2 separate regions of the Homo sapiens genome follow, and region 2 is linked to region 1. Evidence: promoter capture Hi-C in 16 types of primary human blood cells and fetal thymus (Javierre and others, 2016). All regions are on one chromosome and are shown on one strand. The core of a region is centred on a gene start or on the middle of the fragment in contact, and the rest is flanking DNA. Distances in the headings are between cores, read along the strand shown.

Evidence for each region. The method cuts DNA at HindIII sites, captures the fragments that hold promoters and counts their contacts. A CHiCAGO score of 5 or more calls a contact.
Region 2: the fragment with the promoter of TRPC1 here is called in contact with the fragment with the promoter of GK5 in region 1 in 7 of 17 cell types (activated CD4 T cells, total B cells, non-activated CD4 T cells and 4 more); the score reaches 8.3 in activated CD4 T cells.

Annotation. Positions count from the first base shown.
Region 1 is chr3:142,224,229-142,228,682 of GRCh38, forward strand. GK5 (glycerol kinase 5) reads right to left here and starts at 1,357. Exons shown (of 16, transcript NM_001039547.3): 1 at 1,081-1,357. The coding sequence starts at 1,227. RefSeq lists silencers at 891-1,110, 1,301-1,540. The HindIII fragment of the contact is 7,101 bases long and covers 1-2,122 here.
Region 2 is chr3:142,721,829-142,726,376 of GRCh38, forward strand. It overlaps TRPC1 (transient receptor potential cation channel subfamily C member 1), which reads left to right and starts at 2,206. Exons shown (of 13, transcript NM_001251845.2): 1 at 2,206-2,903. The coding sequence starts at 2,732. RefSeq lists a silencer at 2,450-2,499 and an enhancer at 2,758-3,624. The HindIII fragment of the contact is 1,344 bases long and covers 1,533-2,876 here.

The DNA of each region.
Region 1 (4,454 bases), core at 107-2,606:
AATCCCATCTCTATTAAAAAATACAAACAAATTTAGCCAGGCATGGTGGCCCCTTGCCTGTAGTCCCAGCTACTTGGGGGGCTGAGGTGGAAGGATCACTTGAGCCCAGGAGGTCAAAGCTGCAGTGAGCCGAGATCACAGCACTGCACTCCAGCCTGGGTGACAAAGTGAGACCCTGTCTCAAAAGAAAAAAAGGAACAACAATAAGAACACCATAACAAATAAATATTATTTTTGGTGCATTGACAATTGTGTATAAATCAACACTTCATTAATATGAGAACAGAAGGATATCAATTTGTTGGTTGCTGACCAATATTATCAACAATTCAAGGCTTTACTAACAACCAACCAATGATTTGGCAGGTCTCTCAAACGAGGGGAAATAAAGAATTTTATGAATTCTCAAAGATGGAAAATAGAAAACTGATGACCACACAGCCTTCAAAACTTGCCCAATACCTCTAATATCCACGGCAATCAGTTGCTCACGTAAGGAACCAGCATTTTGTGGAGTAGTAGTTAATAAAGATGACAAGTGAAGAATAGAGAATAAACTTAAATTCTACAAAGATATGAAAAGTTATTGAGGCACAAGTCCAAAGGCTATAATAAAGAAAAAAGAAAAAAAGTTTTGAAAAATTAAAATGTAAATAAAGATGTGGTGGGAGATCTATCAGGGAAGTGCAGGAAGAACCAAGCAACTCACAAACCACCCTCTGGCTGGATGTGCACAGCCTGCCCAGTCCCGTCCGGCGAGTCACCTCAGTCCCATCCAGGTAAGGCCGGACAGGTGGCTCCCCAGGTGGCAAGAGGCAAGCGAGCGGCCCAGGTCATACACCGGGCCCCTGGCACCCTCAGCCTGGACAGGAAGGGCGCGCGGGATTCAGCCCAGACGAGGGAGGGAACGCGAAGACTCAGCCGGTCTGGGCGCGCCGTTCTGGCCCCAGGGCCCGCGGGTGCTGCAGGTGGCCGCGTCCAGGGCGGTAGGTGGGGCCTGCCCGCTCGCCTCCCGAGGCCGGACCCCGGGACTCAGCGAAACCCAGTCAGACCCGCGCCCCACGCCCGCCCCCAAGTCACCTTCTGCACGCTGGAGCCGCAGACCCGCGCCGCCCGGTCATAGACGTGGCAGCGGATCACAGAACTGCCCACATCCAGCCCCAGCACGAAGCCGGGGTACCGCGGCTCCTGCGCTCTCTGCTCCGGGTCCGTGAGCAGCCCCGACATCCCGATCCCGCACGCCTCTCCGCTACAGCCGCCTACCCAGAGGGCGCGCTACAAATCCCAATGCTCCAGAGTCCCCGGGCGGCCCAACCCGGGCCCCAACCCGGCTCAGCCGGAGAGCCTAGAGAGGCCTGGCCCCTGCCGCCGGCTCCACCCCGACGCCGTGACGCCACGGGCGCGCGCCGGCGGCCGCGCGGGAGGGGTGGAGGTGAGCGGGTTTGCGCCGTGATCTGCAGCCCCAGATCGCCAGCCATGCTCAGCCTCCAGTCGCCGGCCGCGGTTGGATTGACTTGGCCCTTAACTCTTGTTTTTTTTCTTTTTGAGACGGAGTCTCACTCTGTCGCCCCGGCTGGAGTGCGGTGGCGCGATCTCGGCTCACTGCAACCTCCGCCTCCCGGGTTCAAGCGATTCTCTTGCCTCAGCCTCCCGAGTAGCTGGGATTACAGGCGCGCTCCACCACGCCCGGCTATTTTTGTATTTTTAGTAGAGAAGGGGTTTCACCATGTTGATCAGGCTGGTCTCGATCTCCTGATCTCGTGATCCGCTCGCCTCGGCTTCCCAAATTGCTGCGATTGCAGGCGTGAGCCACCGAGCCCGGCGGCCCTTAACTCTTAATTTTTTCTTTTGCTTCTCCAGCTTCCTGAGAGGCAGCGCCAGCGTTTCTCTTAACCCTAGCTACATTTGAAGAATCTCTGTTAAAGAAAAATAGCTACCCCATATGCTAATCGTAAGGAGAGAAGTATAGGCTAGTTTATATAAAAATCTCAAAAAGTTTGGAGGTGCCATAAGGCACATTTATTCATTTCTCAACTATGATTATGACTTGAGGGTTGGAGAAATTTTTATCTGAGTAACTTTGGCAGACTAACCTGTGTCTGCGTTCGTGCAGAATTTTTCAAGCTTAAAACATTTGTAGAGGTCACTACCATATATAGTTTCCATTTTTTTGCTAACATTTTGGGTGCGACTTTATTTCAGTATTATTAAATGCACAGCCATTGAATATGCTAGAGTTAAATGAAATAAAGTGCTGTTTTTCAAAAATGAAATAAAACAAGTGACATAAAAAATTCAAAATTTGGCCAAAAGTATTAATATTTATTAACAAACTGAGAGCTCCCCACGACTTCTCTTCCCAGAAAACCTGGTAAAGTTTGCACACAATACAAAGCGGTAAATATTTGCCAAATGAAATACAACGCAAGGAAGAAGACTTTTCTCAGCCCTCTAGTGGGAAAGAAAGGAGAAAGCTTAAGGTGGCTGCTTTGACCATCACACTCCACTCCAGCGGTTGCTTTTTTTTGGAATCTGAAAGCCTCACAGAGACCCTTTACCTTTTGTTGCTGCCCAAGGGGATGGGCTCATCCAGACACTTGGCCAAAAGGAACAAGGTGTCCTGTGGAAATTTCGAGATTCTTGCGGCTTAGGTTCCTGGGCCTGGAGCTTTCCCGGGGAGGGTCCTGATCTGCAAGTAGTGGGGAGGTGGTTCCACCTGCGCCACCCACCTCTCCACTGCCACCAGCAATCTGTGAAGCCGGGGCCTGAAAATATTCCTTATCTTCTTTTTGTAAAATTAGCAAACATATGAATATATGTTTTGTGTGAAAACGTTTAACAGTGCCAACTGGTATGTCAATTAAAAGGTAAAAGATAATCATTTTGGCTGGGCGCGGGGGCTCACGACTGTAATCCCAGCACTTTCGGAGGCCGAGGCGGGCGGATCACTTGAGGTCAGGAGTTTGAGAGCAGCCTGGGCAACATGGTGAAACCCCGTCTCTACAAAAATACAAAACTTAGCCGGGCGTGGTAGCGGGCTCCTGCAATCCCAGCTACGGGGGAGGCTGAGGCAGGAGAATTACTTGAAGCCGGGAGGCGGAGGTTGCAGTGAGCCGAGATCATGCCACTGCACTCCAGCCTGGGCGACAGAGCAAGACTCTGCCTCAAAATACATACATACATACATACATACATACATACATACATACATACATACTTACATACATACATACATACATACTCATTTTGAATCAAAACTTTTTTTAGACAGGGTCTTGCTCTGTCGCCCAGGCTGGAGTGCTGTGGTGCCATCTCAGCTCACTGCAGCCTCGACCTCCCGGGCTCAGGCGATCCAACTGCCTTAGCCTCCCATGTAGCTGGGACTACAACCACCACGCCCGCCTAATTTTTGCATTTTTTTGTAGAGACTCTGTTTCGCCATATTGGCCAGGCTGGTCTTGAGCTCCTGGCCTCAAGTGATCCTCCCACCTTTGTCTCCCAAAGTGCTGGGATTATGGGTGTGAGCCATTGTGCCCAGCCAAATCATTCTTTTTTTTTTTTTTTCTTTTTTGAGACGGAGTTTTGCCCTTGTTTGCCCAGGCTGGAGTGCAGTGCTGCGATCTCGGCTCACTGCAACCTCCGCCTCCCGGATTCAAGCGATTCTCCTGCCTCAGTCTCCCAAGTTGCTGGGACTACAGGCCCTCTCCACCATGCCCAGCTAATTTTTGTATTTTTAGTAGAGACGGGGTTTCACCATGTTAGCCAGGATGGTCTGGATCTCCTGACCTCGTGATCCGCCCGCCACGGCCTCCCAAAGTGCTGGGATTACAAGCGTGAGCCACTGCACAGGGCCAAGTCATTCTTTTGACCAAATTGTCGTGTTAATCAACTTGCTTTCAGACAATTTGACAAAATTGGCTCTTTGGCCATACAACGTGAAGCTTGGAACATACACCTGGAAGAGTATGTTTTTTTTCTTTGTACCCTGTTCAACAGTACTGATTTGTTCCAAGTGGCCTCAAGGACTGACTGCCTTCACCAGTGCTGGCCATTTTGGTCGTGTGTGTGTGTGAATTATTGTAATTCGAAATAAATGACTAATGGGTCCAGTACTTGTCAGGGTTCTACAGAGAAATAGAAACAATAGGATAGAGAGAAAGAGAAAGAGAGGTTTATTATTTTCAGGAATTGCTTCATGTGATTGTGAGGGCTGGCAAGTCCTGGATATTTGTGGGGCAGGCTAGCAGGCTGGAAACTCAAGAAGAGTTTCCATGTTGCAGTTTTGAGGAGACTTCCTTCTTTGGGAAACCTGTCTTTGTTCTTAAAGCTTAAAACCAATTGTATGAGACTCACCCAGGTTATGAAGGGTGATCTGCTTTACTCAAAGTCTACTAATTTAAATGTTAATTATTTCTAAGAAATACCTTCACAACAACACCTAGACTGGTGTTTGA
Region 2 (4,548 bases), core at 956-3,455, 500 kb after region 1:
AAACAGCATGGTACTGGCATAAAAATAGGCATATAGACCAATGGAACAGAATAGAGAACCCAGAAATAAACCCAAATACTTACAGCCGACTGATTTTCAACAAAGCAAACAAAAACATAAAGTGGGGGAAAAGACACCCTATTCAACAAATGGTGCTGGGATAATTGGCAAGCCACACGTAGGAGAATAAAACTGGATCTGCATCTCTCACCTTATACAAAAATAAACTCAAGATGGATCAAGAACTTAAATCTAAGACCTGAAACTATAAAAATTCTAGAAGATAACATCGGAAAACCCCTTGTAGACATTGGCTTAGGCAAGGATTTCATGACCAAGAACCCAAAAGCAAATGCAATGAAAAGAAAGATAAATAGCTGGGACTTGATTAAATGAAAGAGCTTTTGCATGGCAAAGGGAAGAGTTAGCAGAGTAAACAGACAACCCACAGAGTGGGAGAAAATCTTCATAATCTATGCATCTGACAAAGGACTACTATCCAGAATCTACAATGAATTCAAACAAATAATCAAGAAAAAAAAAATCCTAACAAAAACTGGGCTAAAAACATGAAAAGGGCTGGGGGCAGTGGCTCATGCTTGTAATCCCAGCACTTTGGGAGGCTGAGGCAGGCAGATCACCTGAGGTCTGGAGTTCGAGACCAGCCTGACCAACAGGGAGAAACACTGTCTCTACTAAAAATACAAAATTAGCCGGGTGTGGTGGCACATGCCGGTAATACCAGCTGGTCGGAAGGCTGAGGCAGGAGAATCACTTGAACCTGGGAGGCGGAAGTTGCGGTGAGCCAAGATCACGCCATTGCACTCCAGCCTGGGCAACAAGAGCAAAACTCTGTCTCAAGAAAAAACAAAAAAACATGAATAGACAATTCTCAAAAGAAGATACACAAATGGCCAACAAACATATGAAAAAATGCTCAAGATCACTAATGATCAGGGAATTCCAAGTCAAAACTGCTATGCCGTATGTACCACCCTACTTCCGCAAGAATGGCCATAATCAAAAAAATCAAAAAATAATAGCTGTTGGTGTGGATGCGGTGAAAAGGGAACACTTCTACATTACTGGTGGGACTGTAAACTAGTACACCACTATGGAAAACAGTGTGGAGATTCCTTAGAGAACTAAAAGTAGAACTACCATTTGATCCAGTAATCCCACTACTGGGTATCTACCCAGAGGAAAAGAAGTCATTACACGAAAAAGATACTTGCCCATGCATATTTATAGCAGCACAATTCGCAATTGCAAAAATGTGGAGCCAACCCAAATGCCCATGAATCAATGAGTGGATAAAGAAACTGTGATATATATATATATATATATATATGTGGTATATATATATGTGATATATATATAATGATGGAATACTACTCAGCCATAAAAAGGAATGAATAAATGGCATTCGCAGAAACCTGGATGGGACTGGAGACTATTATTCTTATTCTAAATGAAGTAACTCAGGAATGGAAAACCAAACATCGTATGTTCTCACTCACAAGTGAGAGCTAAGCTTTGAGGATGCAAAGGCATAGGAATGACACAATGGACTTTCGGGACTCGGGGAAAGGTTGGGAAGGGGGAGAGGGATAAAAGACTACAAAATTAGGTTCAGTGTATACTGCTCGATGATGGGTACATCAAAATCTCACAAATCATCACTAAAGAACTTACTCATGTAACCAAACACCACCTGTTCCTCAAAAACCTATGGAAATAATATGGAAATAAAAATTTATATATTTGTATAAATTATTTAAACATAATATAATTATATATCTATATATCCTTTATAAATGAGAGTTCATTTCCAGCCTAAAATGAGTACAACATACAAACCCACGAGTCTGGCTCTCCATTGTGCTTTAAAGCATAGTGCACCAGAATATGAAATAGCTGGACAATTCCACAAAGGATTTCGACTAAACATTAAGTCGTCAGAGACTCAATTAACATACTGCTCCATATTTGCTTAATTACCTTAAACCAGTACCCTGGGTGTGGAAAGGGACGATTGAGCGAAGTCTTCCTCAGACTGCGGTTCACCTCACCAGAGCGAAGGAAGCTGCAGCGGGCTCCAGGAGCCCAGTGCGTCCCCACCGCAGGCCCCACCCACCCACGCCCCGCTTGCCGCAGGCCCCGCCCACCCAAGCCCGCCCTTGCCGCAGGCTCCTCCCTAGTGTCGTCGCTACAGAGGAGCAGAGGATGACGTGAGGACAGAGTCGCGAACATCTCCTCGGAGCGCAGCTGGGCCAGCGGTTCCCACAGCCCTGGAGCCCAACGTGCGCAGAAGCGCCTCTTGGAGCTCCTCTCCCACAGATCTCTCGTCCTCTTCCTGGGCTAGGCCGCCCCAGGCGCGGCCCCTGCGACTCCTGGCACGGCCCCGTGCTCGGCTGCCGCCCTGGCGCGCGCCACACTGTCGTCCCCGGACGGGCGCGGACCGGCTCGGCCGGGGCGCCGGCGGCTGGGGAGGGGTCGCTGGCCCCGGGGCCGCGCATGCGCCGCCACCAACTTGGGGCTGTCAGTGGAGGGCGAGTGCTGGTTCTCAGGGGAGGCGACGCCCTTCGGGGCCAACGGGCCTCGAGCCGAGGCAGCAGTGGGAACGACTCATCCTTTTTCCAGCCCTGGGGCGTGGCTGGGGTCGGGGTCGGGGTCGGGGCCGGTGGGGGCCCCGCCCCCGTCTCCTGGCCTGCCCCCTTCATGGGCCGCGATGATGGCGGCCCTGTACCCGAGCACGGACCTCTCGGGCGCCTCCTCCTCCTCCCTGCCTTCCTCTCCATCCTCTTCCTCGCCGAACGAGGTGATGGCGCTGAAGGATGTGCGGGAGGTGAAGGAGGAGAATACGCTGAATGAGAAGCTTTTCTTGCTGGCGTGCGACAAGGGTGAGAGTTAGGCCCCTTTCTCCTCTGGACGCCCCTGTCCTCCAGACCTTTAGTCCTCTCCCCCGCCTCAACTTATATCGGGGCATTCCCTCTGTCTCAGGCGCCGAGTGTCTTCCCGCCTCGCCTGCTGCCTCAGGCGGTCTTCTCCTCACCGCCTCTGCCCTGTGAGTGTGGAGCTGGCGGGAGAGTGGAGCTGGGGCTGCGCCCTCGGAGCGCTGCACCGTCGGGGGTGGCTCTGGCCTTGGGGTCCGGGGTTTAGGTAGCGCCTTGGGAGCCCCGACCCCAGCGTTTTAGCGCCGCCCTTGCTACTGACCGCATGAATGACCTGGTCTTCTCTCTGGCTCGCAGTTCATTCCTTCCGGGAGTCGAGAGGCTAGTTTCCGACACTCCAGTCGGAAAATTCCGTCACCTTACCTTAGGATGCCTCGTATGGAGGGTTCTCATCACCTGGTTTTTGTTTTTCTTAAAAACAAAACCAGACCCTCTATTATTTAGCTTCACCTGACCAGTGCTTTAGCCAGTGACTGTTGACTGGCATTAATAACGGAATATCCTAGGTGGAGATACATGAAGTAAGGACGGGACGGAAGAAATTCTGCCTTAGTTGCCAAAACTTTCTCTGGATTTACGGAACGCCTTTGATTGTTAGTGCTTTTTATTGGAGAGAAAGATTTATTGCTCCCAGATCTTTCTTTGGGAGATAAAGATAGTGAAAAATAATTACAGGAATTACAAGGCAAAAATATGTGGAATATATTTAGCGCGTTATCCTTTTTTTAGTCTAGAAGTTAATCATTTTTATGGCCATATTAAGGCCATGTCACGCAATCATCCTTTGTAGTGATGTATATAACAAAAGGGATAGGAAATTGATTGCCCTAAGACTGCTTTTGTTTCCTACATGGAAACACTAAAATTTTTCTTTTTCCAAATTTATATGGCTGTACACTTAGGAAAACTCTGTTAGAAACATGCAAACTTCTGGAACAAACCCAAAGGGCAGTTTACACTATGAAAAGACTAACTACACAGGATTTTTGTTTGTTTGTTTGTATGTGTGAATGTGTAATTAATAAATGACAGCCTTCCTAACCTCTCCTCCTGCTTTTGAAATAGGATTTTATTTACATGATTTTTTGAAAACAATTGACATATAAACAAAGTCCACCTATGTCTGTGGTTGAGCCATTTTTATGTTCTTATGTAATAGTATTAAATAATATTATGAAAGCAATATTAATAATATTGTTAAAGTACACCATGGACACAACTTTGAGCAGTCTTTGAGATGTAAAGAAACAGAATATACATCTACAACGTCACAAAAATAGGGTCTGTGGATTATGTAAAATTATTTAGTATTGCTGGAGTGGGTTGCCTGAGTTCTCTTCCCTCAAAAGTTCTGAGAGAGGAAGGGGAGAAGATTGTGTTGTACTAAAATGAGTAAGTGCTGGCTCCATGTATTCCAGCTCACTGTGCAATGGTTATTTTAAAGCAAACAGAAAGTATGTCAAGAAAGGAAATTTGATATTCCTGTCAAACTGAGGACAGAAAAATATCAGTGGAATATGGTTGAGCAAGTATTTGTGCATTGTGTATATTTAGGATTATTGCATGACATATCTCAAACAAAAGAGAGTTTTAA